Regions from separate parts of the Homo sapiens genome. Here region 2 is linked to region 1. The links are contacts of gene promoters, found by promoter capture Hi-C in human tissues and cell types (Jung and others, 2019). All regions are on one chromosome and are shown on one strand. The core of a region is centred on a gene start or on the middle of the fragment in contact, and the rest is flanking DNA. Distances in the headings are between cores, read along the strand shown.

The links. The method cuts DNA at HindIII sites, captures the fragments that hold promoters and counts their contacts. A contact is called where the count stands out against the background at its distance.
Region 2: a fragment that was not itself captured here is called in contact with the fragment with the promoter of DEPDC7 in region 1 in 1 of the 25 tissues and cell types used here (spleen).

The regions. Positions count from the first base shown.
Region 1 is chr11:33,014,549-33,021,440 of GRCh38, reverse strand. DEPDC7 (DEP domain containing 7) reads right to left here and starts at 5,563. Exons shown (of 9, transcript NM_001077242.2): 1 at 5,413-5,563. The coding sequence starts at 5,485. LOC105376615 (a long non-coding RNA gene) reads left to right here and starts at 5,651. Exons shown (of 4, transcript XR_931167.2): 1 at 5,651-6,164. RefSeq lists silencers at 5,289-5,348, 5,669-5,718. The HindIII fragment of the contact is 12,017 bases long and covers 1-6,892 here.
Region 2 is chr11:32,840,102-32,846,885 of GRCh38, reverse strand. It overlaps PRRG4 (proline rich and Gla domain 4), which reads right to left. Exons shown (of 6, transcript NM_024081.6): 5 at 6,647-6,779. Among named protein-coding and RNA genes, the nearest start is that of PRRG4, 14 kb to the right of the region's middle. The HindIII fragment of the contact is 4,260 bases long and covers 936-5,195 here.

The DNA of each region.
Region 1 (6,892 bases), core at 4,314-6,813:
AACAGGATTTAAGAGACCAAAAATAGACAATGAATGTTTTTTAAGTCTTGCAATCAGAATTAAGGGTTCAGCTTGTCCTCAAACCTCACTTTCATATGAGCTAAACAACCTTTTAAAATCCATCACTATCTACATCTTGATGCTTCCTTACATTTGGTCAAGCATTTTCTTTTTTTTCTTTTTTTTTTTTTGAGATGGTGTCTCACTCTGTCGCCAGGCTGGAGTGCAGTGGTGCGATCTTGGCTCACTGCAACCTCCAACTCCCTGCTTCAAGTGATTTTCCTGCCTCAGCCTCCCAAGTAGCTAGGATTACAGGCACGCGCCACCACGTGCAGCTAATTTTTTTTTGTATTTTTAGTAGAGACAGGGTTTCACCATGTTGGCCAGGATGGTCTGGAACTCCTGACCTCGTGATCCACCCACCTCGGCCTCCCAAAGTGCTGGGATTACAGGTGTGAGCCACCACACCCAGCCTGGTCAAGCATTTTCTAAAAGCATCATAACAAATGGAATCAAAGAGTTTAGAGATCAGCTGTAAAAACTCTGGATAAGAGACAATCTCTGTAAGTAGGTTTCTTTATCTACTGATAAAATAGTTGAACACAATATTTTAGGTTAGTTTCAGGTCTAAACTGCCAGGGCAGGCACAGTGGCTCATGCCTCTGACCCCAGGACTTTGGGAGGCCATGGCGGGAAGATTGCTTGAGGCCAGGAGTTCGAGGTTACAGTGGGCTAGGATCGCACCACTGCACTCCAGCCTGGGTGACAGAGTGAGATCCTGTCTTTAAATAAACTGATTATAGGAATGTAAAGACTGAAATTATATCTCCTCCATTTAGATAAGGACATTGAACACCAAATATGGCAGATCTATAGGCAAGAAAGGAAGCATATGGACAAATTTGACCCTACCAGATACAAAACCTTTTGGAAGGTTGCCTAAGGAGGCTCAGGAATAATTTGATTATCTAGCCTTCAACACATAGTCTCAAGCACTATATAAATCTAGGCTAGTTAACCTTCATTTTTCAAGCAGTCTCATCCTTATTTGCTTGAAAACAATAGCTATTTTTCAAAAGCTGCCCTTCACATGTATTTGAACTCTACCATAAAAAACGTTTACCAAAAGTAAAAGTTAAACTTCTAAGATAATATTGAACACTTATATATACGTGTAGTACCAGTAATAATCATCCTCACTTCTAAGAATTCACACTAAATAACTGAGTCATAATAATTCCCTAAAAATGTAAAGAAATTACATTTACCCAAAAATTAGGGATAATCAGCATCAACCATAATCCACCCTGTCAGCAACCCTAGTCCTACTGTGAAAACCTATGAAAACCTATTTAAAGGGAAAACAATTGTATAATCACTTCAAATAGTAAGATTATATTAAATCTTTAGAAGTAGATCAATATACACATTATAAAATTGGATCCCAATGTAAGGTAAACATACACACAGAATTAATAAAACACACTACCTCTTAATGAACATATAACAAATTTGTTTCCATTCTCGGTCTTTAGACTGGACTTAAAAAAAAAAAAAAAAAAGGAACTGAATCCAGACAGTTGATGTTTCTCCATAAAACTTTTAAGAGATGGTGAGCTAGTGCCCGATTTCTTTCAGATTTCCTAGCGGTTTACAGAGGTTTAAATTATTTAATTGCCTTACAGATTGCCTCAATATAATACAATTGGTTAGTCAATATTTGTTAGTTGTTAATTATTGCTAACTACTAAAAAACTTACTTTTTTTTCTTTTTTGAGACAGAGTCTCACTTTGTCATCCAGGTTGGAATGCAGTGGTGTGATCTCGGCTCACTGCAACCTCTGCCTCCTGGGTTCAAGCGATTCTCCTGCCTCAACCTCCTGAGTAGCTGGGATTACAGGTGTGCGCCACTACACCCAGACAATTTTTGGATTTTTAGTAGAAATGGGGTTTTGTCGCATTGGCCAGGCTGGTCTCAAACTCCTGGCCTCAAATGATCCACCTGCCTCAACCTCCCAAAGTGCTGGCATTACAGGTGTGAGCCACTACACCCCGTTCATAAAAAAAATTTTTAAAGGAAGGTTAACCCAGTGGTTCTCAGTGGGTGATTATACCCCCAACAGGACATGTCTGGAGACATTTTTGATTGTCACAATGAGTGTGGGTATTGCTGGCATCCAGTGGGTAGAGGGATGCTACTAAACATCTTACAATGCACAGACAGCACCCACAACAAAGAAAACGTCAGTAGTGCCAAGGTTAAGAAACCTTGGGTTGACTGAATACTGTTCAGACATGGAAACTTGAGTTAACGCAGCAGACACAGTGCTAGGTGCTGTGACTACAAAGAGTTAGACCAGTGTGGACTCTGCAGTCCCAGGGACCTGAGTTCCGTTGTTGGGTCCATCATTTACTAATAACACGATCTTGGGCAAACTGCCTAACTTTTCTGTTGCAAAACAGAGCTAACTCCACTTCTCTCACTCATTGCGAGGATCATGAGACAATATGTTAATGTGTCTCGCAAAATGTCCAGAAATTAACAGATGTATCACTAAAAACAAAAGGAGCAAACTGTCACAGTCTAGAAGAGTAGATTCATTACATGACAACTGAATGTAATATAATATCTTGGATGGGATCCTGGAAGAGAACATTAGGCAAACACCAAGGGAATCTAAGTGTGGACTTCAGTTAATAATTATATGTATCAATATTGGTTCATTAATTATGACAAATGGACCATACTATTTAGTGAATCTAAAATTTTATTTTAAAAGTAGAAAGAAAAGGGAGGTATCTTTCTTCCTCTTCCTTCCTCTGAACTCAGAGGACACAGTCCCCAACCTTAGGAGTTTACCTTTTATTTACTCCTACTACCTGGATGATAATGTCAAGTTCTGAATAGTATTCAATCACATAAAGGCCAACAGGAGATGAGAAGACAAGATGTGACACATACCAGAGGATTTAACTTTTCATCAGAAAATAACACATCTATAAATCCTAGACCATTTAGGATTTAAGAGAATTTTAAGAAAGATTTTTTCAAAAGAGGTTTTAAAATATTACTCACACAAAGAATTGTCAAGACAACAAAGAAAAAGGACATTTGTTGGATAGTAACCAAAACCTCATGAAAATATTAATAGATAAATGTAAAGAGAATTGTGTTTATGGTGTTAAAACTTGACAGTTGTGACTGAGTGGAAAAATTTTCTATACTATGATCCCAAGATTACAACACTTTTACTGGATATTGGTTCTGGTAGTCCAAAGTTTATTTTCCTGCTAGTTGGCATTAGAGGCGTCATGCTGAAGACTGCGATTGCCTCTGAAAAGAAGGCTGCAGGTAGGTAAAAGAAGTCTACCAACAAGAAAAATTTACAATATCTACGAGAATTATCAGCAAAAGCAGACATTGGTCTCTGCTTTAATTCACATACATTAATGAGACAGCATATGGGAAGTACTTTGAGCTCCCTGGAAAAGTGATACCAGGCAAACTCAAAGAATTAGGTTACAGTATAAAGGGATAACAGGATAACAGACTACTTTCTTGTTTGTCGTATTAAAAGACAAGTGTTTTTGACATACTGGCTGAAGACTGGCATATAGATCTCATTTCTTGTACATAAATCAGGTCCCTGGTCATTACAGCCCCTTTAAGGTAAGTGAGAGTTACTAATCGGTGGAGAAACAAAAGTACAAAGCTGCCTGCCAGAGCACACAGAAAGAGAATGGCAAAGAACCAATAACCGTGTGCTCCCACTACCTTGCTCACTGGAACTATGACAAGGCAACTAAAGGGTGAAAGAAAGGCTAACAAATGTTACCAGGTCGGGATTCCAGCGGTAGCAAGCAAAACGAGTGAGAACAACAGCGGGCCCCTCTCCGTCCACTGCAGCTAGTGTGCCGAGGACAGTGTTCCTTTGATTCCTGATAACCAGCACTTCAACTCTTCCCTTAGAGAGTTATCTACTTAATTTCTGAATACATACTTCCTTACACCATCTAAGAACCTGTTCACAAATGCCCAAAGCTCCAGAATTGGTATTTCAGCTATTAGAGAAAACAGGGTACCATGTTTTTATTTTAAGCAGGTGACATTTGGGAATTTCCTTCACTGAGTAAGTGGGCCCAAAAGATTTCTCAAGACTGTTTTCAATGTCATTTGGTTTTAAATTCCCAAATGTCTTAGCATTTGTCTTCTCTTCACAACATAAATCAAGGAGACATTCTCAATGTGGCCACTATGTGCTTACCTGAATCCTTTACATGGAAGCAGACTAAGGTCAATATTATGATTTTTCTTAGAAAAGGACAAGTGAAAAATGGTTCTCTACCATAATCTGTCGTTAGCATTTTGAAGATTAAAATGAGCATTAGTGAGTAAGTCAAACACAAGAGTGGGGCCACTGAGAAGCACCCATTTGACCCAGAGGAAGGAATCACAGTTTCACTGGTTGGTGTTTTTACAAATGAAAGGCTTTTGTCAGAAAGGGAACTAATTCCTACGACATCCCAGACTGGAGCTCCAGAAAGGGGAAAAAGTTGTAACTTAACCAAAAGAAAAAAGCCAAGGGTTATCTGAGTATCTTAACAGTTATCTGAGTCACCCCTATTAACTGGGTTGTAGATCTGCTATAACCAGCATTTTAGAAGTGATATCCGATTCTCTTCATGTGTTTGAACATTTAAAGAAACCAGAATCCTAAATCAACTGCCCCCAAAAGACACGATTAGGCCCGTGGCAGAATTTGCCAACTTCCCTCCTAATTTCATGTAACTGTTTTTTTAGCCAAAAACTTCTATTCACTAAAATACTGCTTATACATAAAGTGTTAATAAATACCTTTTATGCCAAATTCCTGCCAGTAGAACTCACATAAACCTCTCATCCCTCCCAGGAAGAGTCTGGGGAGACAAGCTGACTCTTGACTCCTAGCAGTCTGGAGAACAAAGTGGGCAAGGGAGGAGCTCGGCCCCTGGCCATACTGTGTCGTCAAGGTTTGTGGTTGAGACAGGGGGCAAAGAACTACACAAATTCCAGATACCACACTTGTCACCGGTAGCACCGCGGAGCATATCCCGGAGCTCCCCGGCGCGTGCCTGGCACGTTAGCGGGCGCACAGACCAACGCGCGGTCAAGTTGAGAGTCTGGGTAGAAAGAAAAAAGCTGGGCTGTGCGGGCGGGCTCTGCCGCTTGCAGCCCACCAGCCAGAGAGGAACTCGATCCGCCCGCTCGGCGGGGGCGTTGGCCAAGTGGTCGCAGCTGTGCTGTGCTCGCCCAGCCGGCCGTTGACAGGCGCAGGCGGCCGAACGCCCCACGCCGCCCGCCCCGCGCCGGGACCCAGCCCGCGCACCCCAGCCCGCCCCGCGCCATCCCAGGCGGCAGTCCTCGGCACCTACCCGGAGGCCTGTGCGCGGGGCTGTGGAGAGCCGAGAGGTTCAGCGCAGCAGCCTTCTCCTGCACGGTGGCCATGGCCCTTGCTCCCCGGACGCCAACTCCTCCAGCAGCTTCACAGCTCCCTAGCTCCCTGAGCGCCCGTCTGTTAACTGTGCGGGGCGTGGCTCCCTGCAGGCCCCGCCCCCGCTGCCGGTCACGTGTCTCTCTGGCAACCACTGAACGTAGCCCGCGGCGCCAGCGATCCAAGTTTCCTCGGGCGCGATGCCACGCGAGCGGTGGTCGGGGACAAAGCGGTTCCCTGGGCCGGCACTACGCGGCCCGCGGCTCACACCAGCGGGATTCGAACCGCGGCCTGCCGTAGATTAACTCGGGACCAGGCCGGGCGCGGTGGCTCACGCCTGTAATCCCAGCACTTTGGGAGGCCAGGGCAGGTAGAGCACCTGAGGTCAGGAGTTCGAGAGCAGCCTGGCCTACATGGCGAAACCCCTTCTCTACTAAAAATACAAAAATTAGCTGGGCTTGGTGACAGGCGCCTGTAATCCCAGCTACTCGGGAGGCCGAGGCACAAGAATCGCTTGAACTCAGGAGGCGGAGGTTGCAGTGAGCCGAGATCCACCACTGCACTCCAGCCTGGGCGACACAGCGAGACTCCGTCTCAAAAAAAAAAAAAAAAAAAAAAGAAATAGAAAAAGTCGGGAACCTGGCAAGCTGCCTAACTGCTCTGTGCGTCGGTGTCCTCACCTGTGATGCGGGGGTAGGTTTAGTACCTGCTTCACTGAGATGTTTGTTTGTTTTTTAACGAGGTTTATAGGAACCAATTCAGGTTCAGCATTTAGTAACTGCGTCCGGAACGTAAGTGCTTAAAATTATGTCATAGTAGTAGTAGTAATAGTGATAATAACAATAATAATCGAGTTTTTCAGACATCCCTACCTGTGCAGAACAAACAAATCCTATGTGGCCCAGGAGAGCAATGTCTAGAGGTCACAGGAGGGCAGCAACGAAAGACCCTGGGACTGGCTGCCAGGAAATCTGTGCTGCCTCCAAAGGAACTGTGGGTCGGGTGGGTAGGGACAGTTTGCTGCCGGTTGGAGTGAAGGTGAGGAGAGAAAAGGAGGAAGGGCTATTAATGGGACACATCTTAGTTACTTGGAAGTTGAAGCCAGGCCAGGGATCCAATGCTGGATACCTCTGAAAGGATGAGTGGTCTTAGAGACCAATAATCCAATTGCCAGACACTTGCCCTTTTTTTTTTCTTTTTTTTCAAGTTTGGGAATTTTGCAATGATTTTCAAAACGATTATGACGTCTTCTTAGAAGGAGGATGCTTGTGTGATTTAGGTGTAAATTAGAATGGTGTTTAAGTGGGAGTTCATTATTTAGCTTATTGGAAAGAGCTTCTACATGGGATTGTTTCAGAGAATACATACTAAGAAGCTGCCCCTGGGGACTTGGGTTTGTGGGTGGGAGGTGGGGGCCAGTT
Region 2 (6,784 bases), core at 1,816-4,315, 170 kb after region 1:
GCTGGGACTATATGTGTGTGCCACCATGTCCAGCTAATTTTTGTATTTTTAGTAGACACGGGGTTTCACCGTGTTGGCCAGGATGGTCTCAATCTCTTGACCTCGTGATCCGCCTGCCTCGGCCTCCTAAAGTGCTGGGATTACAGGCATGAGCCACCGCGTGTGGCCCCAAGTTCTTTCTAATCAGGCATCAAGTTCTACGACTTCTTTTTCCTTGAAGACAGGTTCAAACTCATTACCTCACATCTGAATTGCCATGCTAGCATCCTTGTTGGTTTTCCTCTGTCTTCCTGTTTCTCCCAGCTCTAGTACACATTACTTAAGAAAACCAGACTATAAGAGCCATGGGGGCAGACACTATGCTTGTTTTACTCACCGCTGTGTTCCTAGAACCTAGTATATTACCACATTCTCAAAAACCTTCCCCAAAGGCTATTTTTCCTTTTAATCCTCTGCTTAAGTGGTCCACCTCATGTCTGGCAACTCAAATGTAAATTCGTGGCTGCCATTCCAATTATACAACATTTCCCAAGTCACTCACTACTCTTCATCACAGGTCTTAAATCTCTGGTCAAGGGCTTGGCCCCATGGCTCATGCCTGTAATCCTAGCACTTTGAGAGGCAGAGGCAGGAAGATTGCCTGAGGCCAGGAGTTCCAGATCAGCCTGGGCAACATAGTGAGATCCTGTCTCTACAATTATTATTATTATTATTATTTTTTATTATTAAGACAGGGTCTCTCTCCCATTGTCCAGGCTGGAGTGTAATGGCATGATCACGGCTCACAGTAGCCTCCACTTCCTGGGCTCAGGTGCTCCTCCCACCTAAGCCCGCCTAGTAGTTGGGTATAAAGGCACACACCACCACACCTGGCTAATTTTTTTTGTATTTTTAGTAGAGATGGGGTTTTATCATGTTGCCCAGGCTGATCTCAAACTCGTGGGCTCAAGTGATTTTCCTGCCTCGGCTTCCCAAAGCTGGGACTACAGGCATGAGCCACCGTGCCTGGCCTTGGCTTACAATTATTTTTTTAAAAAATCTTTGGTCAAGACTATTTTGCTTATCATCTCCTATATGAGCCTTGGTAGTACCTGTCTTTGCTCCTGTGGGTCCACTTTCTTGAAACACCCCTTCCTAGTTAATTCCTCTAAAACCCATGTCCGCCAAAGTGACTAGTTGTATCCCACACTGATGGTATGCCTGCTTGACTTGACATTCCTAGCCATTTATAAGAACAGTGTTATCTTTTTTTTTTTTTTTGAAACGGAGTCTTGCTCTGTTGCCCAGGCTGGAGTGCAGTGGCACAATCTCAGCTCACTGCAAGCTCCCGGGTTCACGCCACTCTCCTGCCTCAGCCTCCCAAGTAGCTGGGACTACAGGCACCCGCCATCACGCCCGGCTGATTTTTTTTTATTTTTATTTTTAGGAGAGACGGGGTTTCACCGTTTTAGCCAGGATGGTCTCGATCTCCTGACTTCGTGATCCGCCCGTCTCGGCCTCCCAAAGTGCTGGGATTACAGACGTGAGCCACCGCACCCAGCCGAGTGTTCTCTATCTTACAAGTTTATATCCAAGTTGCTTTTTTGTTATGTAGTTGCCTCACTCAAATGGTAATCACTCCATGTAATCTCCTTTATGTGCCATAATACACTATACAAATACTGAGAGTACTAAATGAGAAGGTAGTGTGAAAGTGGTGTACAGTATATGGTTAGCAACAGCAGGTGATGTGGAAGATGGTTATAAATACAGCTAAGGGAGATTTTTTTTATTTTTATTTTTATTTTTTTTACAAGATCATAAAGGTCAGGTAAGCTAGGGAGATTTCATAGGCCAAATAAAATTTTTGTAGATCTACCAAATTTGAAGAAAACTTATTTGCAATATAATACTTTCTGATTATACTATCTATATTACCTTCTGATAATATGTTTTAATTTTATATGAACACTGGAGAATCTGCAGTTCATTTACAGTCTAGACATATTTTTAAAGAAATACAAATATTGGATGGGAATACATAAACATTCCAGTGAAAGCTTTTTAGAAAAATCTTAGTTTGCAAATTCATAATAATAATAGCTGGGCCGGGTGCAGTGGCTCATGCCTGTAATCCCAGCACTTTGGGAGGCCAAGGCACGAGGATTACTTGAGGTCAGGAGTTCAAGTCCAGCCTGGCCAACATGGTGAAACCTCGTCTCTACTAAAAATACAAAAATTAGCTGGGCATGGTGGCAGATGCCTGTAATCTCAGCTACTTGGGAGGCTGAGGCAGGAGAATCGCTTGAACCCAGGAGGCAGAGGTTGCAGTGAGCCGAGATCATGCCACTGTACTCCAGCCTGGGTAACAGAGCTAGACTCCGTCTCAAAATAATAATAATAATAATAATAATAATAATAATAATAATAATAATAATAGCTAACATTTATTGAGTACTTGCTACTCTTGCTACCAAGCACTCTCTTAAGTACTTTTTGTGTATCACGTCATTTAAATCCTGTAAGTCCCTTATGACATACATACAGTTATTATCTGAGCTACCATACTACACAAACCAGAGGGTACCATTCATACAGTAGCCCATGTGAATGGCAACTCTCTGGAACTATGTAGTGTGGTGGCTCAGATTATTACCTTCAATTTACTCACAGAGAAACTGAGGCAGAGTATAAGTTTAAGTAACATTTCCAAAGTCAAACGGCTAGTTAGTGGCGTACCAGGGTTTTGAATCCAGGCAGTCTGGCTCCAGAGCTCACACAGTGAACCACTATACCATATCTATTTCTAGGATAGGGAGAATACACCTTGGTGGTCTCTTCCAGAAACAGGAGCTGGGCTAGGACTAATGTATTTTAGAAAGGAATCACATCTTACTATATTTTAGAATTTAAAAAAACTTCATCAAACATAAATGAAATGCTGTAATAAAACATTTTGAAGAGACTCTATTAATGATTTAAAATTACTGCGCTAGATAAGCCAGTCAAAAATAGACTAATACTGTATGATTCCACTTACATGAGGTGTTATTGTAGTAAAATTCAGAGACAAAAGGTAAAATAGTGGTTGCTAAAGCCTAGGGAGAGGGGAGAATGGGAAACAGTTTGTTCACTGGGCACAGAACTTCACTGTTGCAAAATAAAAAAAAAAAAAACAGAAAAACGGGAGATTGGTTGCACAACAGTGAATCAACTTAATACTACTGAACTGTATACTTAAAAACGGTTAAGATGGTAAATTTTATGTTACATATATTTTACTATTTTTTAAAAATGTACTGCACTGGAAATATATTTAAATTATATTGTTCAGTGCCAAAGGCAAGTTGCAGAGGAGGACATGTAACGAACATTTCTTTTGAAAACATAAAATATGTTATTAGGTTGGTGCAAAAGCAATTGCCAGTACTTTAAATGGCAAAAACCGCAATTGCTTTTGCACCAACTGAATAGTATATGCATAGAAAAAAATCTGGAGTTTTACATACCAAATTCATAATAGTGGTTATTTTTGAAAAGTAGGATTATGAGGACTTTCATTTTTTATATTATACCTTTCTATAATATTTGAATTTTAAAATAATGCATGTATTACTTTTGTAGGCAAAAAACAGGATAAAATCTTTTTAAAGACCTCAGCCTCCATAATCAGCACATTTTCAGATGCTCTTATCACAATGGAAATGATTTTTTAAGCAATTAACACCAGATGAAATGAAACAACCTACTTTAAACTTTCTTCTGGCTGGGCACGGTGGCTCATGCCTGTAATCCGAAAACTTTGGGAGGCCGAAGCAGATGGATCACTTGAAGCCAGGAGTTGGAGACTAGCCTGGCCAACATGGTGAAACCCCGTCTCTACAAAAATTAGCTGGGTGTGGTGGCACACGCCTGTAATCCTAGCTACTCAGGAGACTGAGGCAGGGGAATTGCTTGAACCCAGGAGGCAGAGGTTGCAGTGAGCCGAGATCACACCATTGCACTCCAGCCTGGGCAACAGAGCAAGACTCCATCTCTAAATAATAATAATAATACACTTTCTTCAAGAGAAAATATTTTTATTAAATTTTAGAGGAAAATGTATCTTTTATATTTACTAATTTCATTTACATGTGTATATATGTAAAAGCTTCTTTTTAGTTTTTAATTAATTAATTAATGTTTTGAGACAGAGTTTCACTCTCGCTGCCTAGGCTAGAGTGCAATGGCTTGATCTCGGCTCACCACAACCTCTGCCTCCTGGGTTCAAGTGATTCTCCTGCCTCAGCCTCCCGAGTAGCTGGGATTACAGGCATGTGCCACCACGCCTGGCTAATTTTGTATTTTTAGTAGAGACGGGGTTTCTCCTTGTTGGTCAGGCTGGTCTTGAACTCCTGACCTCAGGTGATCTGCCCGGCTTGGCCTTCCAAAATGCTGGGATTACAGGTGTGAGCCACTGCTCCCAGCCAAGCTTCTTTTTAATAAATAACTTTAAAAACTCTAATTCTGACAATATAATCAAGGGCAAAAAATTTGTTCTCATCTTTGGCAAAATAAAAAAATATTAAGGAACTTTAAGAGGAATCACAGTCTATTCCTTTCATTCCTCTTTTAGATGAGGAAAGATCTTAAAAAAATCAAGGAATTTGCTTCAAGCTCCATAAATAGTGGCAAAATTAACATGAGAATTTTTGCCTCCAAATTCCTAGTTTGGTGCCCTTCCTATACATGTCATTCTATTTTCATTTTATATCTGGATATGAAACAATGAAGAAAAACTTTAAACCAATTAAACAGTTGTGATTAAAGTCTTCCAGTTTCTTATAGGCCTATTTTTATATTGTATTTAGACTTGAATAGTTGTACAATCCTCTTTTAAAATGGACAAAAACTCTAAATATTTAACCAATTAAAAATAATTTTTGATGCCATGTTGTTGTAATTATCTTCTGTTTTTTACTGACTGCCAATAGAATTTTAGAACCACTACAGAATTAAGTATTTTGAAAAGATCTTCACATAAATTTGGAATACTTAACATTGGTTCATTACTATTATCTAACATGTAGCTATATCCAAATTTTCTCCTAAATTTTCCTTTTTGTTGTTGTTGTTGTTGTCCAGGCTGGAGTGCAGTGGTGCAATTATGGCTCACTCCAGCCTTGACTTCCTAGGCTCAGATGATCCTCCCACCTCAGCCCCACAAGCAGATGAGACTACAGCCTCAGGCCACCGTGCCCAGCTAATTTTTGAATTTTTTTTTATAGAGATAGGAGTCTCACTATGTGGCCCAGGATGGTCTTGAGTCTTGAACTCCTGGCCTCAAGTGATCCTCTCACCTTGGCCTCCCAAAGTGCTGGGATTATAGGTGTGAGCCACCATGCCAGGCAAATTTTCCTTTTTAGCAATTCATTTTTTTGGTCTAGGATTCAGTCCAGGATCACACATTGCATTAATTGTCATGTCATTTACTTTAATTTGGAACAGTTATTTCTTTAGCCTGTCTTTGTCTTTCATGACACTGACATTTTTTGAACAATATAGGTCAATTGTTATGTAAAATTTAAAGTTTACTTGATATGAATTGAAAGCTATTATTAATTTAGAAGACAAAGAGTCTTCTAATATATATGATAAAGAATACTTTCTATTCTTTTGGAGGGATACAAAAACACTGCCCATTTTGCTGAAAAGATAAGTAAAATGATCGTTATCATAAAAGAAAGTAACATGATCGCCACCTTGAGCTTGTTCATAGAATTTGAAAGTGTGAATAGTGATAAATAAGTATCAATTTCTAATAGCCTGTTTAGCATCTGCTGCTTTTTTTTTTTTTAATAAGATTGTTTCTACGCCTACTCAGCCATACTTACTGGGAAGATAATCAGTACTTTTTATTTCAATAGGGATGCTGAGCTTCTATTATGCAAACAATTATGGCCTTTATGAATCTTTCTGAAGCTTTATCAATGTGCTATTATCCTCAATTGGTAAGCATTTTATTTTATTAACTTCAATTTAAAGTGTTAATAAAAATAGTTGAATTTAAAAGCCAGTTACACTGTTTCTATTTGGGTAGCCATGTGGATCTGTTAACTCTGTGACTCAGCGTAAACTATAGGACTTCTTGCCTCTGGAAATAATGTGAAGACACTGGTATCTGCCTCTTGCTTAAGAAGGAAATACTGAAAAATGAAGCTGACCTATGTGAAACTTCTTGTATTCTTTCGAAGGACCTTAGAAATAGCATCATTAGGTTGTTTATGTAAATGTTAAATTAGGAGACCAGACAATTGCCACAGACTGGGAAGACATGACAGCTAAATGCAATGTGGTAACTTGACTGGATCCTGCAGCAGAAGGAAAACACCAGTGGGAAAACTGCTGAAATCAAAGTCTGGAGTTTAGTTAATAGTCATGAACCAATGTCATTTTCTTAGTTTTGATAAATCTACTATGGTAATACAAGATATTAACAATGTGGGAAATTGGGTGATGGATATGTGGGAACTCTCTGTATTAACCTTTGCAACTTCCCTATACATCTAAAATTCTTCCAAAATAAAAGGCTTATTTAAGAAAATAGGCAGCCATTTGCTTGACCCATTGTTAAAATAATAATATAGAATGTCTAGTGATGAATTAAATAATTTCACTTAGTACTTACCATGGATGTTGTAGCCTATTACACTTAGTGATACAAAGATAGTAGCCAAGTAATCCAAAAATAACCAAAAATACTCCAGCAGCAATTAATCCAGTCAGAAGGCCCATAACATCTATTTTCTCTCTGTTGCCATCTTAA